Regions from separate parts of the Homo sapiens genome. Here region 2 is linked to region 1. Evidence: promoter capture Hi-C in 16 types of primary human blood cells and fetal thymus (Javierre and others, 2016). All regions are on one chromosome and are shown on one strand. The core of a region is centred on a gene start or on the middle of the fragment in contact, and the rest is flanking DNA. Distances in the headings are between cores, read along the strand shown. Region 1 holds the start of NAA30 (N-alpha-acetyltransferase 30, NatC catalytic subunit). Region 2 holds the start of GCH1 (GTP cyclohydrolase 1).

What was found. The method cuts DNA at HindIII sites, captures the fragments that hold promoters and counts their contacts. A CHiCAGO score of 5 or more calls a contact.
Region 2: a contact is called between the fragment with the promoter of GCH1 here and a fragment that was not itself captured in region 1, in 5 of 17 cell types (total CD4 T cells, non-activated CD4 T cells, activated CD4 T cells and 2 more). The highest score is 8.3, in total CD4 T cells.

The regions. Positions count from the first base shown.
Region 1 is chr14:57,385,425-57,391,180 of GRCh38, forward strand. It overlaps NAA30 (N-alpha-acetyltransferase 30, NatC catalytic subunit), which reads left to right and starts at 5,162. Exons shown (of 5, transcript NM_001011713.3): 1 at 5,162-5,281; 2 at 5,533-5,756. The coding sequence starts at 5,534. RefSeq lists an enhancer at 5,146-5,756 and silencers at 5,270-5,409, 5,540-5,689. The HindIII fragment of the contact is 1,551 bases long and covers 603-2,153 here.
Region 2 is chr14:54,901,433-54,907,761 of GRCh38, forward strand. GCH1 (GTP cyclohydrolase 1) reads right to left here and starts at 1,394. Exons shown (of 6, transcript NM_000161.3): 1 at 889-1,394. The coding sequence starts at 1,231. RefSeq lists silencers at 579-638, 649-698, 1,109-1,748. The HindIII fragment of the contact is 1,914 bases long and covers 1-1,841 here.

The DNA.
Region 1 (5,756 bases), core at 128-2,627:
GCACCCTAACCAAAGTTTAGATTTGATTATTAGGCTATGGGAGTCTCTGAAGAGATTTAAGCCAGGGAGTGACAAAATAGGTTTGTATTTTGTAAGGGTGGCAGTGGTAGAAATGTTGAGGATGGATGGGTGGGATGGGAGATCAGCTAACATTTACGGGGGCTTCCTATATTCTCTGTATTAAACACTTTACATATAATAATTCATTTTACCCTTCCAAAACCCTACAAGGCATGTAATATTATCCATATCCGATATGAGGAATCTGAAGCCCAGACACATTAAGTTGTCAACACCACACAGCCAGTAATTGGCAGAGCCAGGATCTGAACTCCAATTTTACTTAGATACTCCTTCATCCCCCAGCCACATACATCAGGAGAAGCTCACCTCATACTCAATCTCAGACAGGCCTGATTGACATAAGAGTAAATCCAGCCCCTTTCCAGTGTCTGGCTCAGGAATAGGCCAGTGATCCAATTCTGGTCTGGCTTCTGACCACCAATTCATAGGGTTATCATAAGAACTAAATGAGCTATTATTTATAACATGCTTAATACATGGGAAGACCACAATAAATGGTAGCTATTGTTATTATTAAAAGCTTCTATTATCAAGAACAACTGAGAAAGAATGTCCAAAGGAGGGCAAGAGAGAGTGGAGAAGCCAAGGGAAGAGTTTCTGGAAGGACACAGCAGGATGAAATGCCACGATGGAATAAAGTGATGTGAGAACTGGAAGAGTCTAGTTAGGACATAACAGGTGATTTTTTGCCAGAGTGTTGTTTGAAGAAGGGCTGAGATTGAAGCCAACCCACCAATGAAGAGTGAACCTGCACCTGAGTAGAGACAGTGGATACCTATTGCAGATTAGGAGTTTGTGGTGAAAAGGAGGCAGGAAAAGGATGGTAGTGGGAGAAATCTCTAAATGGGGCATGTTTATAAACTTTGAGGCAGTAGCTAGCAAAGGTAACATGGAAAATTCAGGAGAGAGAAACAATGATGGGACAGGTTCTAAAGGAGCCTGAAAGAGAAAGCATCAAGCCCACAGGTAGAGGGAGGTATTAGTCATGAAGAATTGATCCATCTTCCACCCTCTTAAGACTGGGAGGGAGGAGGTAAGGGTAAGTTCAGATACAGATGAACTTATAGGTATGGCAGTAGAAGGCACACCTATGAAATAGTTCACTTTTCTTAGTGAAATGGAGGCAGGGTTATCTGCTGAGAGTGTGAAGCAAGTAGTGGTTGAGGACAGTTGCTGTTGGATGAAGCTGGCCTTGGAGACAGGTTAAAACAATTCTAGACAGCTGAAGGCATAGCTAAATTAGAGACCAAAAATTTTTTGGCTCTAATATGTAGGAATATATGATTCTCTCCAACATGTCTCACCAGCCCAGGTGTATCTGTGAGAATCACCCTGACCATGTCTTCAGGCAGGTCATGAAGAGTTAGTGTGAGGTTGAAAATAATGGAAATGGGGACCATTTGACCACAACCCTCTCTGGTTCTTCATAGTCCTCTGAGGCCTCAGTTCTACAAACAAAATTGATGCCTACCTACAATTGGTACTGCCATCCACTACTGGCAAGGGGAAAGAAGTTTAAAGAACAGACTGTCATTCCCCAAATTCGAAGGGAAGAATCAAATTGTTAGTCTTTTACCTGGGCATCTCAGAGTGTTCTAAGATTACAGGTAATACAACAATATACTAATATTCATCCTTTGGTTAAGTTCTTCAGCTCTCAAATTTGATGTATGTTCTTTCTTTCATTCAAGATGAAACAAAGTTAAGGACATTCATTTTCAGGGCTTTATGTATAATAGATAGGATTAGTGGGATTAAGAACCACATGACATGTAAAATAAAACTACACAAATATTTAAATTATTTAGTATGTGTGCCTATGGCACATAACAATGTCATCCTGCTGTGTCAAGGGAACTTAAAGCATCTTTCCATTATTCATTCCCACAGTTACCTTTCAGGTAGGTACACAGCTAGGTTTTCTCTCTAAACCTAGCCAATAAGAGAAAAATGCCTCACTGTTAGAAAGAATTAAATAGAAATTTTTCTCCTTCCAAGCTGATTTCAATAAATTGCTTCAGGATGTTGTTTTAAAATTGCTATTGGTTATTTTAATTGATTTAATGAGAAGCTTTTTTTTCTTCTAAAAAATTAAGGCATGTTCTCTTCTTCCTCAAAAGAGAACAACAATAGTAAAAAAAAAAAAAAAAGAAAAAAAAAGAAAAGAAAAAATGGCTGTTGCTTCATAGGATATTACAAAACAATGAAAATATCAACTAACCACACAGAAGAGTATCACTGCTACACTCACCTTGCTCTGAGCCCATTCTTTCCTATGAAGTATTGCTCATGGAGGTAGTTGTTTTTTCAGAGTCTCATAATAGTAAATATGTCTAAAGCATTAGAGTGAACTAATCCTATTTCTATGCCTAAAATAGTGCTATCATCCTATCAAGTAAACATGAATCAAATAGAAAAGATTTCATAAGTTATAAAGGCAATTTTTTTTAGAGATGTCATCTGATTTAGAAGGCCAACATTGTAATTTTAATACTGGGATATAAAGAAAAATCACTGGGGCTGAGACATTAGAATTACCCCACTAGTTATTGAGGAGGTCAGAATTTACTTTGTCATTATAAGCATTCTAGGTTACTGAATGAGAGACTGGTGTACTTCAGTCAAAAAGCTTAACAATTTCCCTTTTATGTGTTTGATATGTGAATACAAAGTGACTAACATTTACTCCCTGGCCTCAAGAAGGTCCTTACAACTCTTGACTTTCTGAAAACCACTTTGAGACAACATCTGGTCAGCTCCTCAGTGTGACAGAGCTCAATGCCAAGTTGCAACACAGAAAGAACAGGAAGGCCTGCTGCCATTCATTCACTACAGTGAAGGTACATGCTTTTTAGGAAGGGCTTACATTTAAAAGTAAATTACTGAGAGGTATTTTTCTAAGTAAAATTCACCCTTAAACATCTCTTATGGAATTATCTGGTGCCTCTTGGGCCAGTTTTTCCACCATGATTTGAACAGATCATTGTTTCATTGGCTGACTACCCAGGTTACACTTAGAAACTTTGAAAAACATGTATCTTTAAACAATGTATGCACATTTGGAAACATGGTTTTGTTTTGTGCTTTTTAAAAGACAGAAAAGGGATCACGCTGTACTTATACATCTCATTTATATCCCCCACACATCAAGGTGTTTAGGAGGTTTTCAATGTATCTGTAGCAAGTTATACATTCTGAAAATGGCCACAGCAATATTTCTGGTCCCATATGCTCTTTGAGAACCTTGCCTCTCTCCACCAAGAGTAGAGTCTATTTCCCCTCCTGTCAAAACTGGATATAATTTTGTGTCTGCCTAGATACAATGCAGCAGAACTGACACTACATAACTTGTTTTTTGTTTCTTTTTGATGAGAGGGAGTCTCCCTGTGTTGCCCAGGCTGGAGTGCAGTGGCGCAATCTCGGCTTACTGCAACCTCCGCCTCCCGGGTTCAAGTGATTCTCCTCAGCCTCCTGAGTAGCTGGGACTACAGGCATGAGCTACCACGCCCGGCTAATTTTTGTATTTTTCGGCAGAGATGAGGTTTCACTGTGTTGGCCAGGCTGGTCTCGAACTCCTGGCCTCAAGAGATCCTCCCGCCTGGGCCTCCCAAAATGCCAGGATTACAGGCGTGAGGCACCGCACCTGGCTAGAGACTACATGACTTCTAAGGCTAGGTTATAATGGGTAATATGCTTCTGATTGACTTTCTCGCACGATACTTGCCGTGGAACCCAGCCACCAGGCTGTGACAAAGCCCAAACCAATCAATGCTAAAAGACCACCGGGAGAGGTCTACATGGACTAGAACTGAGGCCTCCAGCCTTTATCCTGCATCAACCATCAGCGGTGAAAGTGAAGTTTTCAAATAATTCTACTCCTCAGCCTTAGAGTCTTCCAACTGAAGCTCTACGCATAATGGAGTAGAGAAAAGCCATCCCAGTTGTGCTCTGTCTGGATTTCAGAGGCACAGAATCTGCGAGCATAATAAATACTTTATACATAGAGTTTAGATTACGGCAAAAAGTTGCAAACGTGTTCCGTCATAGAATTATATATTGAAAACGTCCATCTGCGGCACACCAGACCAGCTCTATAAATCAGGTTTTTAACAAAACCGAATTTGTTCAGTGAGCGGGTGAGTTACACTACCTGTCTCAGCTCAGACCTGCCGGGAGTCAATTGTGGACTAGAGCAGAAGGCGCCCAGCCACAAGCTCAAGTTCTATCCCCTTTGCACTCGATAGGCAGATCCCCTGGGAGGATCAGGCCACCTGTTTACCAGTGCTTCCTAACCTATTTGTGTCACAAGTTTAGGAGTGTGCTTCTTAGCCCTGGTCACTCTCTTTCACCACCTCTCTCTAACCCTTCCCCAGGTGTGCTAGCAATTGCCCAACACCTGTCAGTCACTTTTGCCTCCAATTTTACTGGGTGCGAGGAGCAGAGTAAGGAGGGAGAGGAAGAGGGCTGACTCCCTTGCCTCAAAGTGGCAAGGGCCAGCTGAACTTAATTCACACTGCAAACCACCACGTTTCGACAGCCATCCCCATATTTTCACAGCTCAAATCTTCCTTTCTTTTTCGGTCGGCTTCTCTGATTTGCTCCATTTTTAATCGCTCCTCCCCCATCCTCCTTGCCCCTGGTCAGGGCAAACATTAAACGCTGTGCAGCTTTAAAAGGGCATTTTTAGGTGACTTGTAAACGGCTTGTTCCACAGGCCCCGAATTGGCGAGATTCGCTACAGCTCGGAGTGCGCGGTAGACTTTAAGCAGGGAGCGCCTGCCCGGTCCATCCCTCCCCGGCCCCGCGTGGCAAGCACCGCAGGTTGAGGCGCCCCCAAACCGAGGAAGAGGGTTTGGGAGCCTGTGACTCCAAAGCCCTCTGCAACTTCCCGGCCCCACAGCCCCACCCACTAGCACGCGGCCTTCCCCGCAGCCCGCAGGAGACACCTTTGTCCCCGCCCCTCCACAGGTCACCTCCCTCCACGCCCCTCTCTCTTGGCCCGGGCAGCCGGCAGGCAGGGAAGTGTCGTAAAGCCAGGCCCAGGAAACTTTACCCGGCCTAACAGCTGAGGCGCTTTACGGCGACGGCGGCTGAGTGAGAACCTTGGCGGCTGTGGAGGCTGCCGCGGCTGCGAAGGAGGCGGCGGCGGTGGCGGAGGAAGAGGAGTGGCGGCAGCGGCGGCGGGGACCCGTGCGGGGTGAGCCGTGAGGAGGGGCCGCGAGTGACAGGGCTGGCGGGTGGGCCCGGGCGGACGGGGACGGTGGCCGGCTGAGCAGCTGGGCGGCGCTGAAGAGCGGGGGGGTGGCGGGGAATTGGGGGGCAGCTCCGTGAGGGACGGTTTCTGCCTTTGTTCCCCCCACCTCGGCCGCCCCCCATCCGTCGCCCCCTGTTCTCCGCGCTCCTCGGCCGGGTTTCATGGCCTCCCCTCTCGGTCTGTGTCGCTTCTAGGATGGCGGAGGTACCGCCTGGGCCTAGCAGCCTCCTCCCACCACCAGCACCTCCGGCCCCGGCGGCGGTCGAGCCCCGCTGTCCCTTCCCGGCGGGGGCCGCCCTCGCCTGCTGCAGCGAGGACGAGGAGGACGACGAAGAGCACGAAGGCGGCGGCAGCAGGAGCCCGGCGGGCGGAGAGTCGGCGACGGTGGCGGCCAAGGGGCATCCGTGCCTCCGCTGCC
Region 2 (6,329 bases), core at 144-2,643, 2.5 Mb before region 1:
TCCATCACCCCATCTTGCATCCTACCCACACTGATTGCATCCCCACCCTCTGGGTGAAAAGCCGACACGCCTCAGACGCTAACAGCACCGGGTCAACCCGGCTTTATTTTAGGGTGGGAGGGTGCGGGGATGAGACTGAGTCCTGGAACCCACGGAGCCCTCCGAATCCCGGAGTAGCTTTACTGCTTTTTGCGGGGTTGGGGGTGGGGGGAGGAAACAGATTTCAGCAGCAAACTCACCCAATCAACCTCACACCTCAAACTCCGGGGAAGCCCGTGCCCAAAATTGTGCCGAATTTTGTAAATGTCCTGAACTGGAGTAAACTTGAGGTGGACAAAAAAAAAAGCACAACTCTAAGACTCCGATCCCCTGGCAAATCAGTGGGAATGCAGGTCCCCGAGGTTTCGGGGAAGGATCGCGCCGAGGCTTCAATCCAGATACACACCCTGACAATGGGATCTCAATAAGGAACTACCCAGGAAGCCGTCGCCGCAGCAAGTGCCCAGGTGATCCTTATCGTGGGCAAGTTTGGAACCGCAGGTACCCCGAGAATCCCGCGCTGGGCGCTCAGGCGAGAGGGCTCCGGGCTCCCGTCCACGCCCACCCGGGGCGTTCTAGGAGGGCTGCGCGCTGGGAGCGGGAAGGGCCCCTGGAAGGCGGCTGCAGCGAGTTCCGGGGCTGAGAGGTCGCTGCCACCCAGGAAGCCCCGACTGTGCCCCACGCAGGGCCTCGGCAGGGCGGCAGGCTAGGGCGGGTTCGGAGGTGACAGCGCCCGGCTTCCTGCGCCAAAAGTGAGGCAACTCCGGAAACTTCCTGGAGCCGGCGCGCGTTTCCTGCAAGCACCGCCCCCGCCGCCCGCACGCTCTAGCAGCCCGCGGGCGCACTGACCTGAGATGGTCTCCTGGTAGCCCTTGGTGAAGAACTGCATGGCCGAGGCCGCCCTCCAGGGCGTCTTGAGCAGCCCTTGCCGCTGGGGGTTCTCGCCCAGCGAGCTCAGGATGGACGAGTAGGCGGCTGCCAGGTTAGGGAGGTTCAGCTCGTTATCCTCCTCGCTGCGGGGCCGCTCGCCCTTCCAGCCGTCCGCGGGCTGCGCGCTCTTGGCCTCGGGCCGCGGGGGCTTCTCCGCCGGCCTGCTGGGCCCGGGCCGCGGCGGATCCCGCTCGGGGAACCCATTGCTGCACCTGGCGCCCCGCGGCTTCTCCGCCGGTGCCCGCACAGGGCCCTTCTCCATGGACCCGCCGCAGCCGCTGCCGTTCGGGAAGGACCCCGGGGCGCTTCGAGGTCTGCGGCTAAACTCCGCCGGTGGCCGCGGACAATGGGCTGTGGCCGGAGTCACCTGAGGAAGGTACGCAACCTGCTTAGATCACACTCCGAGCCGGGAGCGGCCACAGGCTGGAAAGCCCGGCCGCGCCTCCTTTTTATGGCCCGGCGGCTCAGCCTGCGCCGCGGAGCGCTCCCATTGGCCGGCCCCGCCTCGCGTCACGGCCCTCGCCGCGCCCCTCGGCCTCCCGCCCCCGGGGTCCCCAGCAGGGGTCGCGGCTCCGGAGACGCCCGGAGGGGTTCGCAAGCGCAGGGAGGGAAGGAAAAGGGCGCCGGCCCCTAGGATCAGGCGGGACCCCTCCACTTATTGCGGAATGAGCCGAACCCGAAAAGAGGCAGTCGTCCAGGAGCTGGGATCTCAGTGAGAAAGACGCGGTCTGGGCGCCCAGTCGCCCCCTCTTCAGGCCAAGAGGGCGCTGCATTGAAGGGCTCCGGTCCCCTCGCCCTGTGAAAGATCAGCAAACAGGTGGCCTTGCCTGGAGAGAGACCGAGTTAAGCCACCGATTAGGAACCAACTCTTAAGCTTTCAAGGCAAGAGAATAATGTGACTTCAGACTCTTGGGTTTAGTTAAAAACGCACCTGCCACCTAGGGGCCAGGTGGCACCGCTGTCGGGGCAAGTGTCACATCAAGTGGCCCTTATGTGGGTCCCTATGTCTAGAAGGATAGGATTTATGGTTGCTAGAACTTTGATCCTGGAAAAATTGATTTGCAAACGAAGATAGGACTTTCACTTAAAATCCATTTCCGTCGGTGGCTCACGCCTGTACTCCCGGCGCTTGGGGAGACCGAGGCGGGAGGATCGCTTGAGGCCAAGAGTTCGAGACCAGCCTGGAAAACATAGCAAGACCTCATCTCTATAAAACCCATCGCATTTTCTAGAAACGCAGTTGTGCAGATTTGGTGCTCAATTGTTTTACAGTTCCATGCAAAGCGTCTTTCCCCAGATGTTGGTACAAATTGTGAAATGCTATTCACCAACTGAACTCTTAACCAGTGACATCTGCTGTAACTGTTTTCTTTGAGATTAATAAATGGACCTTTTTCCTCACTTGAGGGATTATCTCATAATGCCGAAGGTGAGCTTTAAAACATGTATCAAAATAATATTTTTTTTCTTTTTTTTTTTTTGAGGCTCACTTCATCCTCCGCCTCCTGGGTTCAAACGATTCTCCTGCCTCAGCCTCCTGAGTAGCTGGGATTACAGGCACCTGCCACCATGCCCGGCTAAATTTTTGTATTTTTAGGAGAGGTGGGGTTTTGCCATGTTGGCCAGGCTGGTCTCGAACTCCTGACCTCAGGTGATCCACCTGCCTCGGCCTCCCAAAGTGCTGGGATTACAGGTGTGAGCCACCATGCCTGGCCTAATGTAGATTTTCTGACATAGAAGCAGGTATTAATAGGCTTAGGATCAAACAAACCAATAGGGAAGCCTGTGGAATTATTCTATGCTAACAATGTAGCTTGGTCATTATAATAAGTAATTAGTATTTATGATACATCTGCTCTAGGCGCAGCCCCGTTGGAAACATTCAGGAAAGAAATATGGACATTGCCTAGCCTTGTAGGCACCTTTACTCCAAAATGGAAGAAATGTTCATATCAGTGGGGTTATTTATTTATTTATTTATTTATTTATTTATTTATTTTTAAATTTTAATCTATTTATTTAAGAGCGGGTTATGAGACTGGCTAATTTTTGTATTTTTGGTAGAGATAAGGTTTCACCATGTTGCCAAAGCTGGTCTCGAACTCCAGGGCTCAGGATTATAGGCCTGAGCCACCGTACCCGGCCCAGTGGGGTTTTTAAATAGAGAATATGAACATCCTTTGGAAAACCTCTTTGTCATTTTCCTCTTTATTAAAATTTTTAAATTTTTTATTGTAGGTTTTTATTGGGAGTGGGGCCCTGCAACATTTTTTTCCTCTAACTGTGCTGCCCACTGTCTGCTGATACCTCCTGGTCAGAATTATCTGCTGGGTCTCAAGCTATTTCAAGCATAGTTGAAGACAACATTCAAAGGATGACCTTGCATTTAACAAATGAAAACAAAGATACTAAGTGAGGTACTTTAAAAATGGAGAGAGTAGATAGAGATGCTTTCAGTACGAATTTATTTTTAGTGGCAATCTTTCGTCTTCCTTTAAAAACATGTGTAAAGATTAACTAATATTGTATTCCACAAAGACAGTTTCTAATGAAATTTTTACCCTAAAAATTAACATTTTCTTACACGTATTGCCACTGAGGCACCTGCACCTTTGTTGCAGGACAGGGCCTCTGGATACATGCTAACTTGTAAAATGGAGGCAGTGCCTTTCGGCCAAATGCCCAAAAATAATACAAGAAAACTTTGAAATCACCAACATTATATGAATAATTTAATAGTAAAATGTAGATAGTTGACAAGGATGGTTATAAGTAGCAACAGGAGAAAAAAAGAGGAATAAACCAAAAGGGAAGTAGGTCCCAGATAATTTATTAGCATAAAATGGTTCAACAGTAATATTATGAGCATTTACAGCCAGGAATTGTTACCGCATCCATGTTTTTCACCCAGTAAGGGATTCATTTTCAGCTTGGACCCAGTCTGGGAGTTTCTTTCTACCAAAAAGCCAAGGAATTTTTTAAAGTCTCTAATTTCTAGGACAGCAGCAGAACAAAGAGGCAGATGAGAAAGACACACCAAGTCAGAGACTGAACACTGCAGTGCTACAGAAATGTACAAAGAGTTGTTTGCCAAGTGTGATATGATGATACATGTATATGTAGGTTTTCAGCCATAGTACCTGGTTCATAACTCACAGTCTTTTGTTACAATGTTGGGGCACTTTAGGCCTCAGAAAATAGAATCAATCTCTCTCTCTCTCTCTCTCTCTCTCTCTCTCACCTTCTGCTCCCCTTCCACTCACTAAAGGCAGGACTCTAATCATCTCCCGCCTTTCTGATTACGGATCATAAACCCTCATTGCAAACAGGGTCCTGCCTCATACCCTGGAGGAAGCATGGCTGCACAGAGAGGTCAATCACACCTTGACACGGCTGTCCATGCTTCAATCATGCCTATACAACGAACATAAAAGGCCCAGACGGCAGGGCTCAGGGAGGTTTTGGACAGCTGAATATGTGGAGGTTCCTGGAGGGTGGTGTGCCCAGGGAGGGCATGGAAACTCCATACCTCTTACCCCATACCTCACCCTATGCATCTTTTCATCTGTATCTTTTGTAATATCCTTCATAATAAACTGGTAAACGTAAGTGTTTCCCTGAGTTCTTTGAGTCACTCTAGCAAATTAATTGAACCCAAAGAGGGGGTTGTGGAAACCCCAACTTGAAGCCAGTCAATCAAAAGTTCCAGAGGCCCAGACTTGTGAGTGGTGGAAAGGAGGGGCCAGTGTTGGGGACTGAGCCTTCAACTTGTGGGATCTACAGCTATCTCCAGGTAGGCAGAATCAGAATTGAATTAAATAAGAGGGAGGACACCTAGCTGATGTCCCCTGCTTGGTGTGTGGGAGAAAACCCCCACCCATTTGGTCACAGAGTCTTCTGTGTTGACTGTTGTTGTGGTATAACAGCAGAAGAAAACCACAGTTTCAATTTGTCCAAACACCAAGGGTAATAGACAAACTAACATTGGGTATTTGGCAACAGTAATTGGAAAAAAGCAAATTTAAGTGAACTTGATGGAGGCTCTATACTTGAAATTCAAACTCTGGAGGAGATTTTGGATCAAGGTAGAAAGGTACAAAGAAAAGGTGGCCGGGCATGGTGACCCAAGCCCGTAATCCCAGCACTTTGGAAGGCCAAGGCAGGTGAATCATTTGAGGTCAGTAGTTCAAGAATAGCCTGGCCAACGTGATGGAACCCCGTCTCTAATAAAAAATACAAAAATTAGCCGGGCATGATGGTAGGCACCTGTAGTCCCAGCTACTCAGGAGGCTGAGGCAGAAGAATCATTTGAATCTGGGAGGCAGAGGTTCCAGTGAGCCAAGATCACGCCACTGCACCCCAGCCTGGATGACACAGCGAGACTCCATCTCAAAAAAAAAAAAGGCCCAAGAGCCTCATATTGAGTATAATAAGCCATCCAAAGCCTAAATGTACCCATAAAGGATACCCTAACAGACATGTGTCCCTGGTAGAGAATCTGCAATACCATCTCAGAAGAACAGGCAGATGCTAAGAGGGATGCTAATAGAAAGTGCACCTCAGCGCTGCTGAACTCTGTCCCTGCCTCCACATTACCCCAGAAGAAGGGATGCAACACAGCTCCTCAAGCTCCAGACTGCAGCAGAGTCAGGAAAACAAAAGGGCTTCTGTTATCATGGAAAAACCTGAAGATGTCTCAACAATATCAGAGATACGCAGTGTCAGGAAACAGCCTCCCAAGCATGGGCAGGGGGCAGAGAAACAGCATGGCAACCGTGCAAACACACACCAGCCAAACAAAACAAAAGAAAACCAAGGGGGAACATCATATGGCATGCAGGAGACATAAAGGCAAATAATGCAACTAAGAAGAAAGCAAATCTCATGGAACAGAAGAAAATTCCTCACGAATGTTTGATGCCAGAGACTAACTCAATAAAAGTATAAATTCAGGCTGGGTGCAGTGGCTCATGCCTGTAATCCCAGCACTTTGGGAGGTTGAGGCAGGAAGATCACCTGAGGTCAGGAGTTCGAGACCAGCCTGGCAAACATGGTGAAACGCTGTCTGTATTAAAAATACAAAAATTAGCCAGCGTGGTGGGCACCTGTAATCTCAGCTACTTGGGAGGCTGAGGCAGGAGAATGGCTTGAACTTGGGAGGCAGAGGTTGCAGTAAGCTGAGATCACGCCACTGCACTCCAGCCTGGGCAACAGAGCGAGACTCAGTCTAAAAAAAACAGACAAACAAACAAAAATCATGAATTTAATAAGACAAAAGCCAAAATAATAGAATTGAAAGGGGAGCTATGGATCAACAAAATAAATTGAGGACCATCATTATTATAGAATCAATTAGAAAG